Linked DNA regions of Homo sapiens: regions 2, 3 and 4 are each linked to region 1. The links are contacts of gene promoters, found by promoter capture Hi-C in blood cells and fetal thymus (Javierre and others, 2016). All regions are on one chromosome and are shown on one strand. The core of a region is centred on a gene start or on the middle of the fragment in contact, and the rest is flanking DNA. Distances in the headings are between cores, read along the strand shown. Region 1 holds the start of FIP1L1 (factor interacting with PAPOLA and CPSF1). Region 2 holds the start of LINC02480 (long intergenic non-protein coding RNA 2480). Region 3 overlaps DCUN1D4 (defective in cullin neddylation 1 domain containing 4). Region 4 holds the start of SRD5A3 (steroid 5 alpha-reductase 3).

Region 1 (7,084 bases), core at 346-2,845:
AGTTCCAGACCAGCCTAGGCAACATGGTGAGACATTGTCTCTACAAAAAATAAAAAATTAGCCAGGTGTGGTGGCACCTGCTTGTCTGTAGTCCCAGGTACTCAGGAGGCTGAAGTGGGAGGACTGTTTGAGTCTGGGAGGTAGAGACTGCAGTGAACAGTGACCCTGCCACTGCATTTCAGCCTGGGTTACAGAGTAAGACTGTTTTTTAAACAAAACAAAACAAAACAAAACAAAACAAAACAAAACAAAAAAACAGGCCGGGCGTGGTGGCTCATGCCTGTAAGCCCAGCACTTTGGGACACCAAGGTGGGCAGATCACCTGAGGTCAGGAGTTCAAAACCAGCCTGGCCAAAATGGTGAAACCCCCTCTCTACTATAAATACAAAAATTGGCTGGGCATGGTGGTGCGTGCCTGTAATCCCAGCTACTTGGGAGGCTGAGGCAGAAGAATCGCTTGAGCCCAGGAGGTGGAGGTTGCAGTGAGCAGAGATCGCACCACTGTACTCCAGCTGGGCAACAGAGTGAGACTCCGCCTCAAATAAATAAACAAACAAACAAAAAACCTAGACAAACCTAGAGCTCCAGTTTGAACCATGGTATGTCATCTTTTCACTGGAAGATGTGCTTTCAGAAGCGGCCTGAACATTTGGTTTACCTATTAAAATAAAAACTGTACATACTTTATGATCTATCTTTGAGAAACAGACAAATCTGCAAGGAGCCGTGTGGATCTTCATTGTCATTTTTTGTTGTAGTTAAAAGTGTAAAGTCAAAAGCAATCTGGGTGTACATCAATGGAGAAATAGCCATATTCACTCTGTGATAGCCATACTATGCAATTTTATGAAGCACTTAAAATAGATATAGTTTGATTCATACTAAAATGAAAAAGAGCTCCAAGACACGGATGCTAAAAAAAAAGAAAAAAAAGGAAGTCGAAGGATGATACTATACTGTACTGTACTATTTAAGACTTGTCAATCTCAGGTTCTCCCACCAAAACAGCACAACACATGAAGTAAGTGTATAGGAAATTTCGGAATGATGAACTCCAAACAGGATATGCATCTGTAGCAAGGGCTACCTCCGGAGAGAAGGGTAGGGGAATGAGGCGGTCTTTGACCTTGACAGTAATTTATGGTTTTTAACAAGGAGAGTGCATTCTTCATCTATTAGTTTTGCTTTTGTTGGCTGTGAAAATTAATTTTTTGAGAAATAGTACTGATTGTGATTTCTTCTCTATTCAGTGAGGAAAGGGAGTGACAGGTAATGATTCTGTATCAAGGCTGATTAAAGAATAAAAGAAGGCCTTTCTGAAGATTAAAAAACAAATAAAAAGTTGAGAAGAAAGAGCACGAAGAGTAGAAGGGAACAATGGTGTACTCGCCAGCAATGGCAATACGGGTTATTAAAAAGAAGGGTGGGGGCGGGGAACCCTGGCCGACTCAGGACGCCACGGGAGGAAGCCACGCAAAATAGCAAACCGGGATCCTAGAGGGGCGGGGCCCACCTCAGCGCGCAGGCGCAACCAGGCCCAGGTGGCCGCCGCGGAAGCGAAGCCACCTATACGCGCCGCGCCGCTTGGGTCTCCTGCGCATGCGCAGACGGACCTGCGCTGGAGGCTTCATCTTTGCCGCCGCTGCCGTCGCCTTCCTGGGATTGGAGTCTCGAGCTTTCTTCGTTCGTTCGTCGGCGGGTTCGCGCCCTTCTCGCGCCTCGGGGCTGCGAGGCTGGGGAAGGGGTTGGAGGGGGCTGTTGATCGCCGCGTTTAAGTTGCGCTCGGGGCGGCCATGTCGGCCGGCGAGGTCGAGCGCCTAGTGTCGGAGCTGAGCGGCGGGACCGGAGGGGATGAGGAGGAAGAGTGGCTCTATGGCGGTACGAAACTTCCTGTCTCTGTCTCTCGGGTTCTCTCAGGCCTCCCCTCTTGGCCCTCAAACGGCCGGCGTCCCTGGCCTCTCGCGCCGCCGCTTCGGGCCTCTGGTTGGGAGTCCTGTCCGGCCTGACTTAGGCCGAGCGCGGCGTGCGCGTGCCCCCAGTCCCCGCGGCGGTCTCCCGCCTGGCCCACGCCCACCATGCGCATCCACCCCTGTGGCGGCCGGGCCGGGCTGGGGGGCTGTGACCGGTCCTGGCCCCCGGCTTCGCTGTGCTTTCCCCGAGGCGTCTCGATCGCCTAGCTGCTGCGCTCTTTACCCTTGTTTTTTTCTGTCGATTCTGAGGTGGTGGTTTTTGGTGTCTGTTTTTGCCCTGTGGCCTTAGGGTGCCCTTCCTGTCCCTTCTTTCAGAAACAGTCATTCTGTAATAATAGCTAAATAAAGTTAATGCTGTACAACTAACGTCTTGTTTCTTGATGGTCAGTTTGTATGGAATGCACCTGCAAGGGTACCTCCTTGTCTGAAAGTCGTGCTTTAAAAATAATTAATTAAGAGAGAGAGAGAGAAAGATGGCCCATAAAGAAAACTCTGAATGTCTCCTGTATTAAGGTGAAGTTATTCTTTTTTAAGAGACTACCGTTTAACCTACATCATGGAGGTATCTCATGACCCTTCGGCTTATAGTTTTCAGTGTCATCTCATGTATTTGTTTTTCTCAAAATAAATTTAATGCATCATGTACTTCTCTCTAGAAGGGTACTTGTTTGACATCTGGTTTTTAACTTTAAGTCACAATCCCTTCTTGCTTGTTAACACCAGATTTGAAAGTTAATGTTTGTTCCTTGCCTAAAACATATATTCTTGATTGTCTTTAGAATAGAATAGTAAAAGTGCACTTTGGGCACCATGCAGGTCCTTGATGATGTGACTTTGATAAACTTGTAAAAAAAAATCGTTTGGTGGCAAGATTTAGCATTAGTTACTACTCTTTGAAATGTGAATGTGTAGGATTTCTTTTACAAAGATCTGGAAATCTTCATTACCTCTTAAATTTAAGCTTATTTTTATAGCAGTAAAGTCTGATTTTTTTTTCCATAAAATAAGTATCTTGTTAAGTAATTATAAGGTGATCTAACTTTGGATGTGCTTATAGGCCCATGGGACGTGCATGTGCACAGTGATTTGGCAAAGGACCTAGGTTAGTGCTTGTGATGATCACTTCAGATTTTCATAATACTAGTTTCTTTAAGAGTGGTTTCTTTATTTTGTTTGCTTATTTATTTATTTGTTTATTTTACTTGGTAGATGAAAATGAAGTTGAAAGGCCAGAAGAAGAAAATGCCAGGTTAGTGAAATTTTCTGTTGATGCCTATTACACAGGTTGTGTGAAACAATGGTTCTGTCAGTTGTCAAAATTATTTTCTTACAATCATTGGCTTCATTACAACACTGACTTACAACATTTTGGAGGACATTGAATCCTTTAAGGATTATTCCAGTTTCAGGACCTAATCTTACGCCAATTCTATTTGTTGGTAGTTTAAAGGACAAAGTTTTTGAACTTAGGATTGGACTGATTTTACACTGTTAAGTAACTTGTTACTCTTAAGTGAATTCAGTAGTGAAGTATACAGTATAATCGTTAAGCTACTGATAAAAATATTTTAACTTAATTGAAAATGTTTTTAAGTAAATCAGGAACACTCCAAACTACTGCTTTTCCAGTTTATTAACATTTTTGATGATATAATGGCAGTTTGGTTGTAATTTCAATGCTATGTATTGTTTGCATTCAAAATGTAATTAGCTGATTTGTTATAAGGTTGATTTCTTTGTTAGATTGTAAGAAAGATGTAAGTGTTCATTTATAGAACATATACAGGGAGTCAGAATTTTACCCCAGATTTCAAAAAGCAAGCCATGTAAAGAAGTACATGGAGATGTCGGCTTTACCCTGACCACATGCATTAGTGTCTGTAATGGAGGGAGAGGTAGTTAGAAGATTTTAAGGAATATTTGGGTTTAAAAAGTGGAAGATATACAACTTCATACCGAGTAAGCTGCAATCGAAAAGATAAAACAGGTGTTAGTGAGGATATGGGGAAATAAAACCCTCATACACTTCTGGTGGGATTGTAAAATGGTGCAGCTGCTTTGAAGAACAGCCTGGCCATTTTCTCAAATGGTGAAACATGGAGTTACCATGTGAGTCCTCCACCTTAGAGGAATGAAAACATATTCAGACAAAAACTTGTACGTGAATATTCATAGCAGCATTATTCTTAATAGAAAGTGGAAAAAGAAAACCTCGCAGCTGCATCAACTGATGAATGGATAGATTAAATGTGTTATATCCATACAGCGGAATATTATTTGGCAAGGACAATAAAATGAAGTACTGGTAGATGTTACAACACGGATGAACCTTACAAATGTGGAAGCTAAAGATGTCAGTCCGTAGAGACAGATTAGTGGTTACTAAGAGTTGGGTGAGTGATTGCTAATGTATACAAAGTTCCTTTTGGGAGTGATGCATACATTCTGGAATTAGATAGTTGTGATGGTTGGACTATGTGACCATATTAAAACTCAGTTGTCCTGTTTGAATGGGTAGATTGTATAATATGTGAATTGCATCTCAAAGCTGTTACAACAAAAAATGGATAGAGGGAAAAAGTGAGAAATGGAAGTAGAAATAGCTTAGGAGGAGCTGAAACTACAGTTCAGCTTCCTTACCCAAAAAATCCCCTATAGTCTTTTCACTCATTGGTATATTATCTGAAATGTTATTTCATTTTAAAATTTATATATTCAACTCAGTTCCTAATTCTGATCTCAACCACAAAGTTGAGATTAGTTTTAGTTTATGTTATGAAAGTGATTGAATATTTCTTTGTACCCATTCCTTCAGTTGGTCAAGAAATTAATTACAGGTATAGTTTTACAATCAAATATACTTTTCTATATGATAATCTTTATCCCATTAATTTTTATTTTTATTGGTTACAATTTTAAAAGCTTACTTTCTAATCAAACATTCTTTAATTTTAATTCCGCAATACACAACTTGCTAAAATTTATTGGAGGGAACCTTCTACCTTCCCTGAGTGTCACTGTCAACATAGCTTTATATTCCTTTCTGCAACTTCATTTGGGGAGCCGTTGAGTTGATTTCATCCTATGGGGGAAAAAACAATTTCCTTTACAGTGTTATTTTTCTAGAAAAAGCTTAAAATTTTATCATGTTTCTAACATTTTAATGGTGATAGAAAATTAAAACTTCCAAAAGAGTAGGCCTATTGAAGAAAGGTACTCTGCCAGACCTACTGCTATCTGGCTTGGTACATCATTGCATTGCTCTACCAAAGTTCCTGCTATTAGAATTTGCCCGTTTCCTACTGACTGGCTCATTGCTGAAGCCTCTGTTTTTCTTAAACATTGCATTGCAGTCTCCAATTGTGTTATATCTATCCAAGTTTTGACTAAAGAAGGGATACTGTTTTGTGACGTAGAAAGCAAATGGGACTTGCTTCTGGCTACCTAGAAGCTTATTTCAGCAGGAGGTAAATGTACTGAACAATTATAGCTGCATATTTGTTTTCTTGAAGCAAGCAGTAGAACAATGAAAATATAACAGTTATGTTTTGACTTTTTATCTTTCATTTTGCTTTATTTGGTGATTGTGCTATAAAATGCCACTGTAAAGATCAAATTGATTTAGGATAATTAAAATTGATTAAGTTTGTCATATATTTTTAAAATGTGTAAAAAGCTTGAATTATAGCCCACCATCAAATTATAAATCATTAATAAACTGTGAAGGCATTTGCATTCTTTTTTTTTTTTTTTTTTTTTTTTGAGACAGCATCTCACGCTGTCGCCCAGGCTAGAGTGCAGTGGCATGATCACTGCAGCCTCACTGCAACCTCTATCTCCTGGGTTCAAGCAATTGTCTGCTTCAGCCTTCCGAGTAGCTGGGATTACAGGTGCCCGCCACCATGCCTGGCTAATTTTTTTTTTTTTGTATTTTTAGTAGAGACGGGGTTTTACCATCTTGGCCAGGCTGGTCTTGAATTCCTGACCTCGTGATCCACCCACCTCAGCCTCTCAAAGTGCTGGGATTACAGGCATGAGCCTCCACGCCCAGCCTGGCATTTGCATTCTACTTACAATGTTGAGTACTTGTCTTCTGCAAGTTACTAGAAATAACGGAATAAGACAGTCAGATTTTACCATTACTGTCTCCAGTGGAGACAATAATTTTAGGAGCTTTATTAAAGCTTAGAAATACTAATATAATCTATCTGTACTTCCGAAAAGTAATGCCTGACATGTATACTTACTTTTGTTGTTTGTAGTGCTAATCCTCCATCTGGAATTGAAGATGAAACTGCTGAAAATGGTGTACCAAAACCGGTAACATAAGGCTTTGAAATCCAGTTACTGATACAAATCTTTATCAATAGCTTCACAGTTTACATAGAAAGCAAGCTGGCATTTTACATTACCTTCAGTATCAGGTGTTATCTGGCCCTTTCTTACATCTCCTACTTCATCTGGTGCCATCAAAAACATATATAGGAATTAAAATGAGGAAAAGAAATAGTAGAAAGACTGCAGAGGAAAATAGTATGTGCAAAGGCTTGATGTTTATTGCTTTCAAGGAATTGAATGGTTATAAATCTACTGAATATAGTGAGCCTGGTTTTCAGAGCAAGTTTTGAGCCCACAACCTTTCACTGTTACGATTTTTTAACGTTGCTTTTTAATGTATGTGACAGTCCCTGACTGCATGCCTGCATGCCATTGATACTTTGTGAGGTGAACATATCATTGGTCCTATGAATATTTGTGCATTTTAATCCTATAAAAGGAAGGAAGTTATTGTTCCGGAAGTTTGAAGTTGTATACAAAAAAGTATTTTGCCTATGTGATCTACTTATTTACTATGATGTGATTAAGCACAAAATAGCCTTTAAGAGCCAAAGTAAAATCTTCACAAATATAGAATTTGCATGTAGGGCCTCTTCTAGGTATACAAGAATACCAAGAATAACTGAGCTTCTACTTAACTATTTGGTACTTCTTATGCTTTGGGGTTTTTTTTTTTAATTCTTTAATTGATTTGGTACATTGTATTTGTGACACTGTGAATCTTAAAATTGTTTTCCTCTTAGATTCTTTTTTGCCAAGACTTCTCAAATACTTAT
Region 2 (6,249 bases), core at 369-2,868, 1.3 Mb before region 1:
ATCCTGCGATACTGGGGATGGATTTTTCATTTAGTGTTGGAGATAGTGTTACCATGTATATCCTCGGGAACCTAATTGAACGGACATTTACTGAACACCGGGAAGCCACTCAAATGTACGAGTTACTTGAGTAGACATTCATTGTTCCCTGTTGTAGATATAATCCAATAATTATTTTAGCTGAAAAAAAATGCAGTGAAGTCAATAGCAACTGTTCCTCATGTAGCTGAATCACTTCTAATAAGCACCTTTGGGCCCTAGTACTGTCTAATTCAGTGGGAGTCAGTACCTAGCTGGTCATCAGTCTCTCTGCATTTCTTTTTTCCTAAATGCTGGAACCACTTGACTCATATCTCTAGACTCACTCCTCTCTGAGTCTGTGGGACAAACATGCATTTTAGGCAGGAAAATTCTAAGTTAAAGCCCAATGATGCAGGAGTCAGCAGTAAGGCTCTGTGTTAATATTCTGCCTGTGGTCTCATTGATCAATTTGCACAACTGGGCTTTTAACTGATTCTGAGTTCCTATCTTCTAGTCCTTAATTCCTAAGCTTTGCGTTTTTCTCTCTGCTGGGAAAGTTCTTCTTCCCTGGCACGCGCACTCTTATTCATCCTTCAAGAACTATTCTATTCAAACGTCATATTTTCTCTAAAGGCTTCAGAGGCTCCCACAGATCTGTTCCTTAACTGTGTGCCTAGCCTTTTCTAGCACTTCAGATTGCATTGTATTTTTATCTTGTCTACCTGCTGATTTCATTCAAAAGATGGTGTGTTCTATCTGGAAGGTAGGTGTCTTACTCATCGTTTAATCTCCAATGTCTAGCACAGTAATTAAACTTAATAGATATCTTAGAAATCTGCCCAGTATCCCAATTTCTAAGCCCTGACTTGATTTTGCCAACCTCCCTCCCACTTAGGTGGTGAGATACCTGGTAGCCAATTTTCCTGAAACCAAATGCTCCTTTGGCTATTTGAATATCACCTTCTCTTGGATTCTTTCCTCATCGCTGATGTCCATCTCTGACAGGACATCCCACTATTCTTAATGCCAATTTCTATTCTCTTTTAAAGAGATCCAATTCACTCACATGACCACATTTTAATGTGGGTTATTTTCAAATGTACTATTGTCAGCCTTTTTTCCCCTGAAATAATGACATTTAAAGTCAACTCTGTGCCTGGCAATGCCTCTTTTACAAATGAAGAAATCAAGGCTTGTAGAGGTTAAATGGCTGACCATCTTTTCAACTCCTAAAGAGCCAGTATTGAATCTAGGTCCATCTGACTAGTCTTTGCTCTTTCTACCATACATCACAGCCTTTAATTTTGCTCTTTCTTTTGACTGTTGCATGATATTAGCATTTGGAAGCACAAAACACAGGTCCCCAGGGCTGGAGTATGAGTCAGATTATGAAGACACTTACACCTTTGTTCACTTTGCAGTGGTTTGAATAGTGCCCTGCAAAAAGGCATATCCAAGTCCTAACCTCCAGTATCTGTGAACGTGGTGTTACTTTGAAACAGAGTCTTTGCAGATTGCTATAGAATGAATGTTTGTGTCTCCCCTGAATATTTCACATGTGGAAATCTTAGCCCCCAGTGTGATGATATTAGGAGGTAGGGCCTTTAGAAGCTGACTTAGTCCACTTTGTGCTTCTATAACAGACCATCTGAGAGTGAAGAATTTATAAAGCACAAAAAATTATTTTCCCACAGTTCTGGAGGCTGAGAAGTCCAAGCAGGTTCAGTTGTCTGATGAGGGTCTGGTCTCTGTTTCCAGGATGTTACCTTGAACACCTTGTCATCCTGAGGGGAGGAATGCCAAGCCCCTATGACCTGAACAGCTCTCAAAAGGCAACACCACCCAATGCTGTTGCATTGGAGATTAAATTTCCGAACATGAATTTTTGGGGACACATTCACATCATAGAAGGAAATGATGGGTGATTAGCTATCACTATTCATGATTAGTTCTCATGAATAGGATTAGTGCCTTTATAAAATAGATCCAAGAGAATTGGTTTGTTTCTTCCACCATGTGAGGACACAGTGACATCTATGAATCAGGAAACAGGCCTTCACCAGACACTAAATCTCTAAGCATGTTGATCTTGGATGTCCCAACCTCCAAAACTGTGAGAAATAAAGCTCTGTTGTTTATAAGCCACCTAGTCCATATTCTGTTATAGCAGCCCAAATGAACTAAGACAGATGTTTTTAAGGATCTTGAGATCACTCTGAATTTAGGATGAGCCCTTATCCTTATAAGAGGACAGAATGGCAACATACACTAAGATGATATGAACATAGAAGCAGAGATTGGAGTGATCACTCTACTAGGCAAGGAATACCAATAATTGCCAACCGCTACCAGAAGCTAAGAAAGAGGGATGGAGCAGATATACGCTTAGAGCCTCCAGAAGGCTCTGATTTCTTACTTCTAACCTCTGGAACTGTAAGACAACAAATTTCTGTTGTTTAAAGCCACCAAGTTTGTGTGTTACAAATACACACTTCAAGTTCAACACATGAAAAATTTGAACTCAAAACCTTTCTTCCCAATCTGGTCCTCCTGTGTTCCCTTAGTGAATGATATCACCATCTAGTCAGACACCTCAAAGTAGTTCTATACTATTTCTGGAATGATCTTTCTAAAATACAAATCTGATCATGTCACTCCTCACCCTCAAGCTTACCATACTCCAATACCTTTCATGATAAAATTTAAGCTCCTTATATTTGGTCCTTCACCAAATTTTGGTCCTTCACCAAAAGGTTAGAAACTTTTGGTCCTTCTGCCCCTTTCTAGCCTTGTTTCCTGCCTGTCCCACACACACATCCAACGTGACTACAGAGGAGTCAGGGAATCAGAGACAAAGTAATCTATCCCTTTATCCCTGTGCAATATTTGCAGCCCCCATCTGCTTGCCCGAACTCAAGTTCTTAATGGCTCTGTTCCTTTGCATATGTGGCTCTTTCTCCTTTTAATCTAGCTGTCTCTACTTGTCCACTAAAACTCAGATCAAGGGATATCTTTTCTGAAAAGCCTTTCTTAAACCTTCTCCCAATCATACATTTCTGATTTGTGTGGACCTCTCTGTGATCCCCAAGCATGCTGCTATTGTCACATCACACTATACTGAAATTTATTTATTTGTCCATCTGTTTTAGTTATCTGTGAATTCATGCCTCTCCAGATTCTTCCCATTTTTCAGAACCAACCTCAGTCCTACCTCCTCCTGACAATCACAGCCAGTCCTTATTCCTCTTTCCTTTTAACTATTATTGCACTAATTTGCTGTAACACCCATTTGATACTTAGTGCAGTATCTTGTTACTTTACTTTTCATGCATATACAGTTTGCTTCTGATTAGACTGAGTTCCTTACAAAGCAGAGGTAATGTGTTATTATTTTCCATGTTGCTCTAAGTCCTGAACACATTAAGAACCAAGTATATAATACATACTTAATAGCTCTGATGAATATTAAATTAATTTTTTCTATTGGGTAAAAAATATTACTAGCATCTAAGTATCTCTGACATCGGTATCTAATGCTCACCATACCATACCCCAGAGAAGGCCACTAGACTAACCCTCATCTCTGTGTCTTCTAAGTGCTCTTTCAAGGGTCCAGTTCTGCCCCTTCCATACTTAACCTCTGTGACCTCCAATGTGATATAAAAGAGACCCAATCATACAGTTTTTCTATTTACAGCCCTTTGCTGCCTCCCCACTGCCTATGAAATAAAGATCAATTCCTTTAGCCTGATACATAAGACCCATCATAGTTGAAACCAGGACTATCTTTGCAGTCTTGTCTCTGATTCCCTGACTACTCTGTAGTCACATTGGACTACTATTTGTCATTTTCTGCCCCTCCATTCAATTTCATGCCTCTTTGCTATGATTCTTCCTGTTTCAAGTTGCTCTTCTCTTCCTGGTGAACGTCTCTCCATCCTTCCAAAACAGGCTCTAAACATTACCTTTCTATGACTTTCCCTGATCCTTTTTCAGAAGATGGGAAAGGAGGCAAAGGAGGAGTCATTGTTTCCGCAGAACGTTTATCTACTCTAACTGACAACATTGAAGTATGGTTGCTTTTCTCTTTCTTGAATAGATTATGAGATTCTAGGGAACAGAGACTGAGCTTAATTCTGTCCATGCTTAAGGCAGATGGTTGTGTCACACTAGAAATCCAGTAAATGTTTATTAAAAGTGCTGAAAAGGATCTATTTCAACATCACTCATCCTAGGGACTATCTCGTGCTATCCCATATCCCTCTCCTGATGTGCTTAAGGACATCTTGCAAGGTAGACCATATCCACTGTGTCTCTGCAATAGCTTGATATGTCCTGAGCTTACTCCTCCTCGGGGGATTTTCACAGAACCATGACCTTGCCATTGCATTTAGCTAGCAGAGCTGAAAAGATGGAGGGTGAGGACGCCTTCTTTTCTGAAAAACCTATGATGGAAACCTGGGTTGCGATAGGAAAAATATTTTGCAGCTCTCCAAAATCACACTACATCTACCTTGGGTTTTTTCTCCTTCTAATCTGTATTTGTTGCAAATGTTCTATAGTTTATTTAGGGGCTAAGGTGATACACTTGTGATATATTTAAAATTTCCTCTTGTTTTTATAGTTTAATCAATAGTGCACATGAAATAATTGTACAAAAAAATTCTGAACTGCTGCTCTGTGTGGGTAGTGCTCCTTGGTATGACACAGCAAACAGCATTCTTCCTTCTGTCAGTGGGGGAACCTGCCTCCCACTCAGTTCCCAATAAATTCATTTGTTCTCCAATGGGTGTTTTTTAGAAAATATTTTCCTTTCCCTTAATGTGGCAGAGAAAAGGACAAAACAGAACTCCTGAAAGGAGAATACAGAACACTCAGGTTAGAAAACACTTAAGTGGACAAAGAAGTGTTTTGCTACCTACAAGAACAAAGTGCCTCTGAGCACAAAGGGCCTAAGCAATACCTTGGATAAACATTGCATTTAAAGGCAACTTTATGCAAGTGGGTCAGCAAAGACTAAAAGATTTTCTTCAAATAGTAATACAGGCCCTGATCCAAAGACACAAGATCCAAACACAGACAGCAGAAGGAGAAGAATACCGTGGCTCAGCCAGGAAAGGATGAGGAGTGCTTAAAAGAGCATCCAAGCCAAACACAGGTTGTTCTTATCAGCCCCTGGCTAAGGGTTAGCAACTGTCCTTAGTGAAGAAGACTTGAAATTAAGATGAAAATCCTACTGCGTAATATAATCCCCTGTAATTTATTGCATATATTTATGTTTGGTGTAGTGTGAACTAAATATACATAGCTCTCACTTCAGCTCTCACTTCAGGCAGTGGATTCAGCTCATCTTTTGTTGGCTTCTTAAAATGCCCAATTAAAAATCTTTCAAGCTGACTGATGTAGGTAAAAATCCAGGGTAGACAAAATTAAAATCTATTCCAAGGCCGGGCATGGTGGCTCACGCCTGTAATCCCAGCACTTTGGGAGGACGAGGTGGGCGTATCACCTGAGGTCATGAGTTTGAAAGCAGCCTGACCAACATGGAGAAAGCCCGTTTCTACTAAAAATATAAAATTAGCCGGGCGTAGTGGTGCATGCCTGTAATCTCAGCTACTCGGGAGGCTGAGGCAGAAGAATTGCTTGAACTCGAGAGATGGAGGTTGAGGTGAGCCAAGATGATGCCATTGCACCCCAGCCTGGGTGACGAGAGTGAAACCCCGTCTCAAAAACAAACAAAAACCCTATTCCATCTACGTACTTGACACATTATCCTTTCTAGAACAAATCACTCCTGGCTAGGTAGTAGAATTATGACACCGTAAGAACCACGAATTGGCTGTTAAAATTGCCTTCTATCTCAGTGGATTATGACATCAGATACAAAGCAGCCAATCACATCCTTTCCTTTCCAATCTGTTTCCTTTTCCTTCCTCTCTTCCTCCTCCTGGCTCCCAACTTGTTTCTTCTTTCTTATGTGCCAGTTGCTGTGCTGAGGATATGAAGCTAAATAAGCCTCTCTCCTTTTCCTCATGAAGCTCAAAAGCTTAGATAGGAAGCAAATAAATATAATATAGCATGATAATTGCAAGAATATTAACATGTCCAAAAGTTAAAGAGAGAAAGCATAAAGAAGAAAGTGATGAGCTCTGAGGGGTTGAGGTAATTAGGAAAAGTTTATCAGTTTAAGCTGGGTTTAAATTTGTTAAAAGTGCAACTATAGAGAAC
Region 3 (7,318 bases), core at 599-3,098, 1.5 Mb before region 1:
GCTGCTTTTGAGCTACTATGGCAGTGTAGTTGCAACAGAGACTGTATGGGCCAGAAATCCAGAAATATTTACAATCTGGCCCTTCATACAGAGTTTACCAGGCTCTGCTTTATACTGTGTATTGATATCTGATAGGGCAAGTTCATCCTCATTCTTTTTCAACAATTTCTTGGCAGGCCTAACATGTTTATTTCTCCAGATGAACTTTAGAATCAATCTGCCAAGCTTGCCTGACTTCCTTCTTTTCCCCACCTCTTTTTGGGGTGGAGAACTGGGGAGCCAGCAGAATAGGAATTTTGATTGCATTAATTTGTGGTTTAGTGAAGGGAGAAGTGATTGCTTTACAACGTTGGGTCTTTCTATTCCAGAAATATCTCTTTACGTGTATATCTTTCAGTAAACTTTAATTGTTCATTCTGAACAATAAAATCATACATATTGGAGTTTATTCCTATATGTATTGTTGCTTTTTGTTGCCATTATAATTGCGTTCTTGTCCCAGTTATATTTTGCAAGTGACTATGGTATAAAGGGAAGTTTTTGCTTTTTATGTATTTAAATTCTGTTTCTAACCCTCTTATGAGAGTAAACTATTAGGACTGTTAATTTTTGTTTCTTTTGATTGAGAGTCATTGTCTGAACTTACCAATAATTGTTTTATTAATGTTTATGTCTCCCCCTGTATTGTGTAGTTTTCTTACCTAGAGTAGTTTGGGGGAATGGACTTTGACCCCCTCAATGGCATTCATTTTTTTTTCTTTTGTGTAGGTCACAGCAAATGGTAGTTAAAACAAGCAAAAAAAAAAAAAAAAAAAAAAAAAAACCCAGACAAGTTTATGCCCAATCAGCAGTTGTTGGTAGTTTTAAGAAAATCCAGAAGATAATCTAGGCAAGCTATTTATCAAGCAGGCTGTGCCTTTGTAGAGCTGATTGCTGGTTTTAATACAGACTATAGAGTTGCCATGTCACACAGGAGAGTCAGACTCAGCACTGCTTTACTTTGGAGAGCCGTCTGATCATGGAATGCAGTCAAAACCCAGCATTTATCCTTTGGAATTGAAATACGAGCAGAAGGAGATTTTTATCAATCAGTGCTTTCCAGAATACGTTCTCGGTAAAGCATTTGATCTTTACCCTTAACATCTAGGCCTTAAGGAGGTGAAATCTACTGTAGATTTCAAGGGCTATTACTTGCCATGAGCATTGAACAGATGAACTGTAAATCCAATGTGTGTTAACCTTTGTGAATCTATCTTTTAATGACATTTTTGTCTTTTTTTTCTCCTGAATTTGTGTCTTAACTTCTCCTTATGTTGATGAGACGAAAGAAAAATTATCCATGTTACTGGTTTCATTTCTTCCTTTTTCTTTTTTCTTTTTTTAGTTGAAGTGATGATGATGTGGTAGCAATAGGGATTGGATATAGAAATGGATAATTGGTGACATATATTATGTATTTGTGAAATGAACCTGTTTACTCTTGTTGCCTTTAGTAAAGTAAAACTTCATACGTGGAACCTGATTTTAAACATAATATCTGTATTTTTGTTCCTGTGTGTTGTGATTATCTGCAGTCAACATTATGAACATCAGTTGCTGGTATATGAGTCGCAGTGCCATTCTTGCATTACTATAAAGAAATACCTGAGACTGGGTAATTTATAAAAGAAAAGAGGTTTAATTGACTCACGGTTCTGCAGGCTTTACAGGAAGTATGGTGCTGGCATCTGCTTGGCTTCTAGAGAGTCTTACAATCGTGGAGGAAGGTGAATGGAGAGCAGGCACACCACATGGCGAAAGCAGGAGCGAGAGAGAGAAAGGGTGAGAGGAGGTGCCACACACTTTTAAATGACTGAACCCCATAAGAACTCACTCACTGTCTCAAAGACAGCACTAAGCCATGAGGGATCCGCCCCCATGATCCAAACACCTCTCACCAGGCCCCACCTCTGGCACTGAGAATTACAGTTCAACATAAGACTTAGGTGGGGACATATCCAAACTATATCACCATCATAGGCTAAAAGATGTACCAGGCCACCTGCCTCAATTACAGAGGAAGCTCTGACCTTGGGATCATTGATGTAAGGCGAGAATTGAACCTAGGAAAAGTTAGAGACTATTTTAGACAGCTGTGTGGTATGGAGAATGGTGTAAGTAAATATAGTCGGAATTGATGTCTTTTATTGAGCACTTACTATCTTCCAGGTATTGTAATGGGTACCTGACATACCTAGACATTGTAATAGGTGTCTGATAAATATTTTCAACCATACAACAACATTATGAAGGAGAATTTTTTATCCTCACTTTACAGATGAGAAAATTGGTAGACCTGAGATTTGAACCAGCTGTTAGACTCCAGAGTCAGGTTGTGAAGCAAAGTGGATTTTTGACAGGAATAGAGTGGTTTTGTGTGTGTGTGCAAGTGTGTGCACACATTTGAATTCTCTTGGGTGTAGGAAGGGCAGTGGGCAGAATGTGGGGTTGGAAGGAAGGGTTTTGTGGAGTGGGGTGGTGAAAGATGTTTGGAGTATGAGTTGGGCCCAGCTCACCGAAGTCCTGGAATTCCAGATTGAGGATAACTTGTGTTTCTTGTCTTTTCTACTTCTTCCACATTTATATAAAGGAGGGAGAAAGATATAACAGTTTTGGTTTATTTAGATTCTCTTATGGGAATTTTGGGAGTTTAATTAACAGCAGGGTGGTGAAATGACAAAAGCATAGCCTGGAGAGTTAGAAGAGACCTCATTGCTGGAATGGCTTTTGGCAAGCCCCTTTTTCTCTCCCCTCCCTTACCCTCAGTGAAAAGAGAATCAAGAGGCTAAAGTTTTCTCAGTTTTTGCTTTTTGTTTTTTTGGGGGCCCAAGAGTTTAACTTCATATTTTAAGGTGATAATGGAATGTATCATTTGTCTTCCTATATTTAATCTGAGAGAGTACAAAAAGGGGGCTATGGCTTGGTAGTGGATGGGGTGGAGGTGCAAGAGTTGAATGTTCAAGCTCCTCAGCACCTCTTGCTGGTCCTGAGAGGCCTCTTGCTGGTGAGAGGGCTGTAGCTTCTAGCTTCTACCCCTGTTCACGTTTAATAAATATAAATGTAAATAAATAGGTGTATAATACACATACTTTTCTAAACCTCTGTGCAGTCGTATTTAGATGAAAAATCCAGATTCTCAGCCACTTTATGTCATCATTTACCTTAAGCATGGCTGGGCTATTCAGATGCTAAGCAATTCAAGCATGTCTATATTGGAGGGCCATTTAGAGCTTGAGGCCCTGCTCTGGCTGTCTCTCAGCACAAAATGCTGGTTTTGGGGACCATTCTATATGGCTATGACTGTGAACAGTGCATATGCACATGTATGTATACAGGTATGACCTGCTGTTCCTGACACTGCATGTGAATGTGAGGGGCTCTGCTTCTGCCAGCCCCTCTGCCCTGCAGACCTACTCAGAACTGGATGCCCAACAAGCTTTAGAAGAGAAAGTAAAGCTTTCTAACTGTGAACAGGGAGGCCAGCTTGTTTTCAGGGTTCAGAGTAGCAGCACAGAGGATCCAGCCCAAGCACAGACACCTGATATTGTAGCACCTGCTCTTTGGATCTGTTCTTTGGATCTGATACGTGTCCTAAATAAAATGTTTCAGTAAAGGGAGCTTTTTTTCTTTCTTTCTTTTTGTCAGAATGGTATAACTTGGAGAGTTACAATATCTTTTCATGGTCATTTTCATACTAACCTTTAATAGGAAAGAAGGAACTAATGTAAATCCTGATATTTTGTGAAAATACTTCCAGTGGTACTTATATATGAAATTATTAATAAACTTTCAGCTTACATTTTTATTGCCTAATATATATGCAAACATACTTTACTTCAAGTTGAGGCTGCGCGTAGTGGCCCACACCTTTAATCCCAACATTTTGGGAGGCTGAGGCAGGAGGATCACTTGAACCCAGGAGTTCAAGACCAGCCTGGGAAACATAGAAAGACCCTGTCTCTACAAGAAAAAAAAAAAGAAAAATTAGCTGTGCATGATGGTGCACACTAGTAGTCCCAGCTACCATGCAGGCTCAGGCAGATCACTTGAGCCTGGGAGTCTGAGGCTGCAGTGAACCATGATTGCACCACTGCACTTCAGCCTGGGCAACGTAGTGAGATCCTGTCTCAAAAAAAGGAAAAGAAAAAATAAATACTAATGTTGGGATGCTTTTCTATCATTTTCTTGCCATGAGCTTACTTAATTGTACCAGTAATTCTAGGGAAGAGAGGGGAAAGTGAACATTTCATTTGAGACTTATCTTTCTATTAAGTTCAAGTTCACTGCTGGCAGGATTTTATAACTACTGAAGTACTTTTTGTTTTACCTTAGAATTCACATGAAAATTTCATGAACTTTAACATTTGGTTGGGAATTTAACTTTATTGTCAGACTATTTCTAGGAGGTCACTAATTGCATGTTTTTAAAAAACTTTAGTGTCAAATTAATTGAGATAGTATTTAATTATATCAAAACATTTGTTTATTTTCTGAGTTTGTTTTTTTACAATATTGGAAATAAATGACGCTGACATTTTTCCTTTTTCTTTTCAAGATTTTCAGCTGAACTCTCATCTCTCAACACTGGCAAATATTCATAAGATCTACCACACCCTTAATAAGCTGGTAAGTCATTCTTTTAAAGACAAAATTACCAACTGTTTGAAGTAGTCATTTTGTATAAGTGTATTTGATAAAAATTTAGATTCTAGATATTAGGATATCAGTTGTTTATGAAAATGCTAACGGTATGTGATTTCTTCGTAATAACGAACATATTTCTTTCAGAACCTAACAGAAGACATTGGCCAAGACGATCACCAAACAGGTATCTGTAAATGCTAACACTACTTAATTTTAAATAGCTTCTTAATATTAGGAAAGAGAAATACTAGCTATGAATGCGCTATGTTGTCATAATGTACTCCATTAACAAATTGTTCCTTGGCTGAGGTTGTTTTTCAGGGAGTAATGAAGGCAGCCATGTTATAGCTTCTTCCCAGTAGGAAATCTCTTCTGGAAGCACTTTTTAATGCCTTTAAAGAGGCTCGGGATTCTCATAGTTTCAAGATACCTTGTTTTCTCTACTGCAGTATTTTCATTTATATTAAAAAGGTGCTACAGTAATGCAATTTGAAAGGTATTCCACAAATATTTGAGAAATTCAGCTGAAAAATGATTTAATATGGTGTGTGTGTATGTGTTCATAGTTACTGAAGATTTAGAAATCAGAAAATTGAAGCTTGATTAGTATAAGTTATCCTCTAACCCTGTGGTTCTCAGAGTTTAGCTGGCATTATGATCACCTGAGGGAAGGCCTTGTTTAAAGTACAGATGTTAGGTTCCACCCCAGAGTTTCTGGTTCTGTAGACTTGGGGTGGGGCCCCAGAGTTTGCTCCTATGTGATGCTGATGGAGCTGGTCTGGAGACCACTCTTTGAGAACCACTTCTCTCAACTGTTAGTAATCATCAAGTCCAGAAACTTGCATTTGATCTATGGTTACTAAAATCCTAGCAAAAATTATTTAAACACATTTTAAAGTTTTTGAAAATGGCCATAGTAATAGACGAATTGAAATTTGTCTTAGTCTGGGCTGCTGTAACAAAAATACCTTAAACTGAGTAGTTTATAAACAATAGAACTTGATTGTTCATGGTTCTGGAGACTGGTAAGTTTAAGGTGAAGGCACCAGCAGATCCTGGGTCTGGTGAGGGTCTGTTCCTCACTGATGGTGCCTCTTGCTCACTGCATCTTAACATGGCAGAAGGGGCAGGCAGCTCCCTCAGGCCTCTTTTATAAGGGCACTAATTCCATTAATGAGGGCTCTACCTCCCTGACCTAATTGCCTCCCAACTCTACCTCTTACTACCAGCAGTCTGGGGATTAGCTTTCAGCATGTAAATTTTGGAGGGGCACAAACTTTCAGGCCATAGCAGTGCTTGTTGGGGAATTTTGAATAGCACAAAAGTAAATAGAGTGGAAAGTTACAGTCGTCTTTTAGACAACTATTTAGACGTCTCTTTAGATGACTAAATAGAGTGAAAAGTGACAGCTGTCACTTTCTGCCAGCACATGGTTTAACATTGGTTCTTTCAGACTTTTTTTTCAAAGCAAAAACTCTTTAAGAAAAAGGTATGATTTCTCATTTTCTATTCTTAGCATAAGTTTTAATTCTTTCCAGTGGAACCCAAACCTCCTGAACCTCTTTCAGTGTCATCCAAAGCTTTGAACTTCTATTTCTGGATAAAGATTTGTTCACAAATGAACTGCAGTTCAATCACCTTTTTTGACTTCAGACTTTTCTTTGCCAAAATAAAACAGTACAGCACCAGCATTTCCTCTGTAATCTTCCTTTATGATACCACCTCCTACATCTATAAAGTGTTTTGCAGCCAAGCCAGCGTGGAGCTACTCTTCCACAACACCTGGAAGGAGGAGCTCTATCTAAATGTCTGTTCACAAGAGCTTTCTCCATAGGTGGTATTGTATCATCTTAGGCACTGTACAGGTCATAGCCTGCAGCCTGTACAGACCCTCAGGTCAGGCCGTGGTATGCTTGGAGAGCTGGGCAAGGCAGAGCTGCATGCTGACCTCCTCCACAGACCAGAGAGCTTGCTGGGGGAAATGGCAGGTATCTCTTTAGAGAAGGGCATGGCAGAACGAGAAGGTGAGCGAAGGAGGGAATGAGAGGGTGCAGGATCCCTTCTCACATTTGTATGCATGCATATATGTTTATAGTCGTGGTTTTTAATTTAGCATTGGTGATATCATACTGTACGTGTTATAGTGTGTTTTTCTTTTTCATTTAATGGTGCATTTTGGGGGCTGTTGAGATTTAAGACTGTCCCCACCTTCTCTAAATTGGTTCAGAATCAATTGAAAATTAGGTGTAAGATGGAGACTGAAGTAACAGTGTTTTTGGAAAACACAACTTAGATGTGCAGCAAGAATGCACAGGACTTTCAGCATTTCACCTGAATCACTGTCACAACTAGATAAGCACAAGCCAGCATACCTGCTGACCCTTTACACCCTGCACTATGACAGTGGAAGTGTTCATACTCTTTCAGCTTGCTCCACTGCAGGCAGATCTGAAAGGGAGTTCAGAGGGGTTGGGCTTTCTGCTCATTTCAGGCTCTCTGCTCAGTTCAGTCTCTCAGCACTTAGATCAGGCACTCCTTCTTCCAGGGAAAGGAGTGAGACAGAGAGGCAGAGAATGCGCTAGGAGTGTTCTAGGAGTTCAGGGGTACTAAGGGTCCCTTCACCTGATCATTCCAT
Region 4 (6,554 bases), core at 2,573-5,072, 2.0 Mb after region 1:
CAACAGAAAAAGAAAAAATCCATAGCCTGAATTCTTACCTCTTTAACAACTATAATAAGTATACTCCTTCTTCTTAGGTATTATGTTGTACCATACGTCCAGGAGTTAATCAAAACAACTAAGCCAAGACATGTTAAGCAAGTTTGAAGAGGAAAACTAAAAGAGGAGGGATTGTAGAAAGTAAAAATTTCCTCTTCAAAGTTTTCCTTCTTGTTAAAGAATAAGTCATAAGTGTTAGACATAATAGTTTTTTTTAAAGACTTTCTTCCAGCCTCCTTGCTTTTTGCTAATAACTCTCCGTTAAGCCCTATCCTATGTAACTGTTGGACATGCTCACAGGCAGGTTCCAGCTCATAGCCTATGCCCCTTCCTTATTTGGAAATGTTATTTCTTCCTTAAACCTTTCATAAGCAACTTATTTGTTCTCCCCTGCACTTACCTATTTAGGAAAGTTTCAGGTTATTAGCAAATCAGGTATCAGTTTAAGATTGTGAGGTTCTAGCCTGATCAACATGGAGGAACCCCATCTCTACTAAAAATACACAATTAGCTGGACGTGGTGGCACATGCCTGTCATCCCAGCTACTAGGGTGGCTGAGGCAGGAGAATTGCTTGAACCTGGGAGGTGGAGGTTGTGGTGAGCCGAGATCGTGCCACTGCACTCCAGCCTGGGCAAAAAGAGTGAAACTCCGTCCCAAAAAAAAAAAAAAAAAAAAAAAAAAAAAAAAAAAAAAAGATGGTGAGGTCCCAATACAGCCAATGGATGCAGGACACAGCAATAAGGACAACCCAAATGCGTAAGGGATAAATATGTCTCATTTTCCTTTGTTCAAGTTTGCTCTCGACATTGTTCCATCTGCGAATGAGCACCCTTTCTGCAGAAAGTAAAGATGGCCTTGCTGAGAGATCTTTTGTCTCTGTGCTGACTTTTCTTCATGGCACCGATTATCTATTTCTAACAGTTTTGGTATTTCTAACATCTTACATATCCTTATTAGATTTATTCCTAGACATATATTTTATGCCATTGTGAATTGTACCTTTGAAACATACAAATTTTTGTTCGTTGATGAGAAATAAAAATGTACAATTTCCTGTTTGTTGCTGGGAAATAGAAATAATATTTATGAACAGATTTTTATCTCCAGCAACCTCCCCAAACTGCCTACTAGTTCTGATACCTTATCTGTGGATGCCATTGGAGTTTCTATTATTGGAGTTTCATATAATCATCAAATAATGACAGCGTTATTTCTTACTTAGCAGTCCTTATATGTTTTATTTCTTTTTCTGATTTATTGAGATGGCTAGGGACTTAAAGCACTGACTCTAAGGATAATTGAATTTAGATTCATATTTTGAAGGTAGAGCCAACAGGATTTGCTGACAGATTGCATTTAGGCTATGAGAGAAAGACAGGAATCAAGGTTGAGTTTAGGGTTTTTGGCCTGAGCAACTGGAAAAATGGCTTTGCCGTTTACTGCAGGCAATACCAGTAGTTTGTTGAACATATAGTGCAGTTAATTAAATGAAGAAAGACAAAAATGCTCACTGATATTTATTAGCAATGATCTTTCTAACAGATGTTAGCCTGGTATTCCACTTTTGAACTAACTCACTCCAGTAAGGATTTACATTTACAAATACTCCCAGGAGGGTTTAACTTACGGCTTTCTGTTCAGCCACTGCCATCTACAGGGGGCTTCTCTGAATATAAACTGTGCATGCTGATTAAAATCTAAAAAATAGCCAGGCAGGGTGGCTCACGCCTGTAATCTCAGCACTTTGGGAGGCCGAGGCAAGCGGATCACCTGAGGTCGGGAGTTTGAGACCAGCCTGACCAACATGGAGAAACCCCGTCTCTACTAATAATACAAAATTAGCCTGGTGTGGTGTCACATGCCTGTAATCCCAGCTACTCGGGAGGCTGAGGCAGAATAGCTTGAACCCAGGAGGCAGAGGTCACGGTGAGCCAAGATCGTGCCATTGCACTCCAGCCCGGGCAACAAGAGTGAAACTCGGTCTCAAAAAAAAAAATCTAAAAAATATATGGGATGATTTTCCCCTCCAGCCTCCTCAACCCTTCCTGTTTCCACTACACACACACTCACACATACACACACACTTATCTTGTTTTCAATCTTGCCCCAGGTCAGACAACTGTAAGAGAAACTCCTACCCAGGAAACTGAGTCCCTGCAATGCACTTACAAGTAGCTTCTCTGAAAAGAAAAAGATCATGGACAGACCAGCTGCATTTACAGAGAGTTAACCTAAGAAAAATAAAGAAACAGTGAAGGGGTGCCAGGAGCATTGGCTCATGCTTGTAATCCCAGCACTTTGGGAGGCCGAGGCAGATGGATCACGAGGTCAGGAGATCAAGACCATCCTGGCTAACACAGTGAAACCCCATCTCCACTAAAAATACAAAAAAAAAAAAAAAAAAAAAGCCAGGCGTGGTTGGGGGGGCACCTGTAGTCCCAGCTATTCGGGAGGCTGAGGTAGGAGAATGGTGTGAACCTGGGAGGCAGAGCTTGCAGTGAGCAGAGATCAGGCCACTGCACTCCAGCCTGGGCGACAAAGCGAGACTCCATCTCAAAAAAAAAAAAAAGAAAAGAAAGAAACAGTGAAAGGGTGACTCCCGCAAAAGAGATCCAGGATCACTCAATAAGGCCTCATTGTCCTAGCTAGAATGCCAATTTAACCATCCTTAATCACCTGGCTGTCAAAGGACGGGTAAAGCCTTAGGTGTCTTTTGCACAAAGAAGAAAACTTTAAAAGCTTGCTCATTTAACAGTCCAAAGTCCCACTAACCTACCCACCCTGATGTTTATTCAACACACATATCGGGTATCTCATTGGGGTAAGGGTGATGAGTTGGCTACCTCTCCCCTCTTCCACTTCTCACCCACCACCCAATCTCAAAAATGTAAGCTCCAAATAAGCAGTGACAATTATCTTGTAAACCCCTCTGTCCTCAGTATCCAAAATGATGCCTGTCATACAGTAGGCATACAATACTTCAGAATTAACATTTTAAAGACTTTTAAATACTTAAAAGAGCTAGATTTTCACTTATAGTAAATAAAATCAGTGTTGTTTAAAATCAGTGAGTCAATAAATAGCATTGTCACTACCTGAGATAAATGTTACAGGAAACAGCTGATGGAATTTAAAAACTTTGCTTCTAAGGATTGGAACCCTATTGGTAAGCGACTGCTGTTTTTTAAACACAGTTTTTACCACTATGATTTTTATTATTATGTGCAATTACTTGTCTACATGTTTACATTATACACATATCCAACACATTTCCAGCATCCTAACATAATTATTCATTTTTGGGTGTGATCTGCCTTCTTTATCCATATATACACACATTCATATTAATATAGTTGTTTGCAATCATAGCTATGTATTTTTATGGTTGGTTTTGTTTTTCACTTCACATATTGTTTCCTAAACAGCTTTCCCTGTTTCTACACTCGTCATAATAATTCTCAATGACTGCATGATATTCTAACATGTCAGTGTATCATAATTTAGCTAAATAAACTAAAATGCAACATGTAAGGTTTCCATTTTTTGCTTTGGAGATAATGTTGATAAGAGTGGCAGACACGTGGTCTCGTCTGTTTTGCGTCTTTGCTTCTGATGAATCATATTCTGGAGCTCCATCTAAGAATCCCCATGCCCAGATTAGGGACTGCGAGCGACCACCCAGCGCCAGCGCGACCAGGACCAAGGACCTCCGCGGCTGAGCGGCGAGTCCGGGAGGGGCTCTGCGCGTCCCCGCCCCGCGCCGCGTCACCGACGTCCCGCTAGGCTGAGACCGGTGCGCCGCGCGCTAGTGGCCGCTCTTCCGCGGGCTAGCGGGCGGTGGGGGCGCCAGCAGCGCGGAAGGCGGGCACGCGGGCCATGGCTCCCTGGGCGGAGGCCGAGCACTCGGCGCTGAACCCGCTGCGCGCGGTGTGGCTCACGCTGACCGCCGCCTTCCTGCTGACCCTACTGCTGCAGCTCCTGCCGCCCGGCCTGCTCCCGGGCTGCGCGATCTTCCAGGACCTGATCCGCTATGGGAAAACCAAGTGTGGGGAGCCGTCGCGCCCCGCCGCCTGCCGAGCCTTTGATGTCCCCAAGAGGTAACCGCGCCCCGGTCCCGAGCCGCGGTGGTCAAGGCGCTGAGAGTTCGGGGCGCCCCGGCTCGCGGGCAGCCAGCAGGGGGCAGCAGAGGCGGGACCCGGCCTGGGAGGCCCTGGCGGGTTCCCGGGCGCAGCACGGCGCTCCCTCGGCCTGGCCCCGGCCATGCCCCGGCTGCTGCGTGGCTCCGGGGAGCAGTGCCCGGGTGTCCGCGGACGCCGAGGGAGAGCGGAGCCGCTTGCACTCAGCTGGAGGAATGTGAACTGGTAGCCGCACGGAGCCTTTCCCTGTGGGAAATGGCAACGCATCCGAATTTAGGCCTGGTCATGCGAATTTAGGCGGCAAATTGAAGTGCCCCTTGCCCCAAATTCTCCTTTTTCCCGTACCCTGCACTCCAGTGGCTCATACTCTAACTTGAGGTCACCGGGAATCATTTGTGGAAATGAAGTTAGGCCGGCTCTTCGGCCTCGGCTTCCCCCGTTTCTCTTCCCAACCCTTGCAGTGGGGACAAAGGACTGAGTCGCCCTAACCTGCACCTTGGCAGGTGCCCCTGGGGAAGGTGGCCCAAGGTGCAGGTCATAGGCAGGCCCGTCCCGAAGCTCCATTTGACTTTCGAAAAATTCTGTAACCCAGTTCAGCGAAGGATTAAATCGTCAGGTTTTAAATAGAGACCTGTTATAATTTTCTTCTTCTCCTTTTTCCACTTTAAATTCAGGACATAGCTGGAAAGAGTTGGCCAAATACTATTCGAGATGGTAGAAATAGAACAGTGCCCCTTAAGATGCATCTTAGGCCGGGCGCAGTGGCTCACGCCTGTAATCCCAGCACTTTAGGAGGCTGAGGCAGGCGGATCGCTTGAGTTCAGGAGTTCGAGACCAGGCTGGGAAATATAGTGAGACTCCGTCTCTCCTGAAAATACAAAAAATTGGCAGGGCTTGGTGGCGTGTGCCTGTAGTGCCAGCTACTTGGAATGAAGGCAGGAAGATCATCTGAGATCAGGCATTGGAGACTGCAGTGGGCTATAATCATGGCACTGCACTCTAGCCTGGGCAACAGAGAAATACCTTGTATTTAAAAAAAATTTTTTTTTAAAGGTTAAAAACATCTGGGTTGTCGCTTGAAACACTCATAGGCAGTGCCCCAGGTCCGCAGGCAACAAAGGGACAAGTATAATTTGGCTTCTAAAACTTGGATAATCTGCGAATTTTGACTGTCAGAGAAAGATGTGTCATGTGTTAACACAGAGAAGGGAGAACTAGGTCATTCTGAGGCACCCTAAAGGGAAGAAGTAGAAGTACATGAAACAAATTGATCAAACCTCCTGTTTCCTAGAGGCTCTTTTTAAGCAAAAATTACCTGTTATCCCATTTGTAATCAGGGTTGAATCCTTTTATACTTCACAGCAATTTATTTTCTGAGTTTTGAGAAAGGTACTAGTCTAGTGTACCTGGATTAAATGGCACATGTAAAATCATCCCCTGAACTTGCATACACCCCAGCTGTTGCAACTCAAGTCTGTTATTACATGACAGCCAAGAAAGAGACTTGGTACCTTTTCCTTATTCATTACTGTAACAGTTGGTTCTGTTTGGACTTCCTGTAATTTCTACTCTATTGTGAAATAATTTACACCTTTTTCTTCTTCCAGAATTCTACAGTAGAACCTCCCATAGTGTTCAAGTGCCCTTCCCCTCCTTCTCTAAATTTAAACAGACATTTCTTTTAGTACTGGAGAAGGTACAAAACATCCAGACCAATAATGAAAGGCATTTTTATTGTGACAAAAAAAAGATAACTTGCATCAAAACTGGCAGTGTCTCCAAAAAATTAATACATGTATTACTCTCTTTTTAAATTTTATACCCCTGTTTATATGAAATAGGCAGATAATTAGAGTTGGGTGGAGGTAAGAGTCTATGGCCTCTTTTTTATACGTCTCTGTATTTTCCAAAATGTCTTCATTCACAAGATGCTTATCACTTTTATCATTTAAAAAAATGTGCTAATGGCTAAGGAGCATGTGGGAGAGATTTTACTGGTTTATAAATAGTAACCACCATTGACTAAATGTTTACATATATGATTATGTGATGACTACTAAGGAGTACGTGCCTTTCCTCATTTAATCCTCACAGTGGACCTGTGAGGGAGATGTTATTGTCATTATTCCCATTTACACACATGCAGACTCAAGCTTAGAAGATAGCAGTTGTGCAGTGATGCTAGTACTAGCAAGGGTGGTACCTGAACCCTGCCTGTTGGAATTTAAATCCCAAGCTCTTATCCTCTGGTATACTTCGTGGGAAATATCTTGTACCATGTGAAGCTCAATCTGTGTGAAAGATTAAGTGAGAATGGATTTATCCCAGATGGTAGCATTTAGTAAATATCTTGGTTAATCCAAATTTAAAATCATTT

Evidence for each region. The method cuts DNA at HindIII sites, captures the fragments that hold promoters and counts their contacts. A CHiCAGO score of 5 or more calls a contact.
Region 2: a fragment that was not itself captured here is called in contact with the fragment with the promoter of FIP1L1 in region 1 in 1 of 17 cell types (naive CD8 T cells); the score reaches 6.2 in naive CD8 T cells.
Region 3: a contact is called between a fragment that was not itself captured here and the fragment with the promoter of FIP1L1 in region 1, in 1 of 17 cell types (total CD8 T cells). The highest score is 5.1, in total CD8 T cells.
Region 4: the fragment with the promoter of SRD5A3 here is called in contact with the fragment with the promoter of FIP1L1 in region 1 in 1 of 17 cell types (total CD4 T cells); the score reaches 6.8 in total CD4 T cells.

What each region holds. Positions count from the first base shown.
Region 1 is chr4:53,376,046-53,383,129 of GRCh38, forward strand. It overlaps FIP1L1 (factor interacting with PAPOLA and CPSF1), which reads left to right and starts at 1,596. Exons shown (of 18, transcript NM_030917.4): 1 at 1,596-1,878; 2 at 3,028-3,072; 3 at 3,180-3,219; 4 at 6,233-6,290. The coding sequence starts at 1,794. LOC105377654 (a long non-coding RNA gene) reads right to left here and starts at 1,695. Exons shown (of 3, transcript XR_007058118.1): 1 at 1,614-1,695. RefSeq lists enhancers at 1,314-1,862, 1,664-1,753, 1,804-1,923, 1,863-2,411 and a silencer at 2,084-2,173. The HindIII fragment of the contact is 4,469 bases long and covers 1-2,929 here.
Region 2 is chr4:52,038,853-52,045,101 of GRCh38, forward strand. It overlaps LINC02480 (long intergenic non-protein coding RNA 2480), which reads left to right and starts at 5,953. Exons shown (of 3, transcript NR_147189.1): 1 at 5,953-6,183. The HindIII fragment of the contact is 2,140 bases long and covers 549-2,688 here.
Region 3 is chr4:51,858,843-51,866,160 of GRCh38, forward strand. It overlaps DCUN1D4 (defective in cullin neddylation 1 domain containing 4), which reads left to right. Exons shown (of 11, transcript NM_001040402.3): 2 at 4,595-4,665; 3 at 4,828-4,867. It also overlaps the pseudogene DUTP7. Among named protein-coding and RNA genes, the nearest start is that of DCUN1D4, 19 kb to the left of the region's middle. The HindIII fragment of the contact is 3,250 bases long and covers 224-3,473 here.
Region 4 is chr4:55,342,420-55,348,973 of GRCh38, forward strand. SRD5A3 (steroid 5 alpha-reductase 3) reads left to right here and starts at 3,823. Exons shown (of 5, transcript NM_024592.5): 1 at 3,823-4,138. The coding sequence starts at 3,918. RefSeq lists an enhancer at 3,544-4,304 and silencers at 3,756-3,925, 4,136-4,405. The HindIII fragment of the contact is 3,550 bases long and covers 2,779-6,328 here.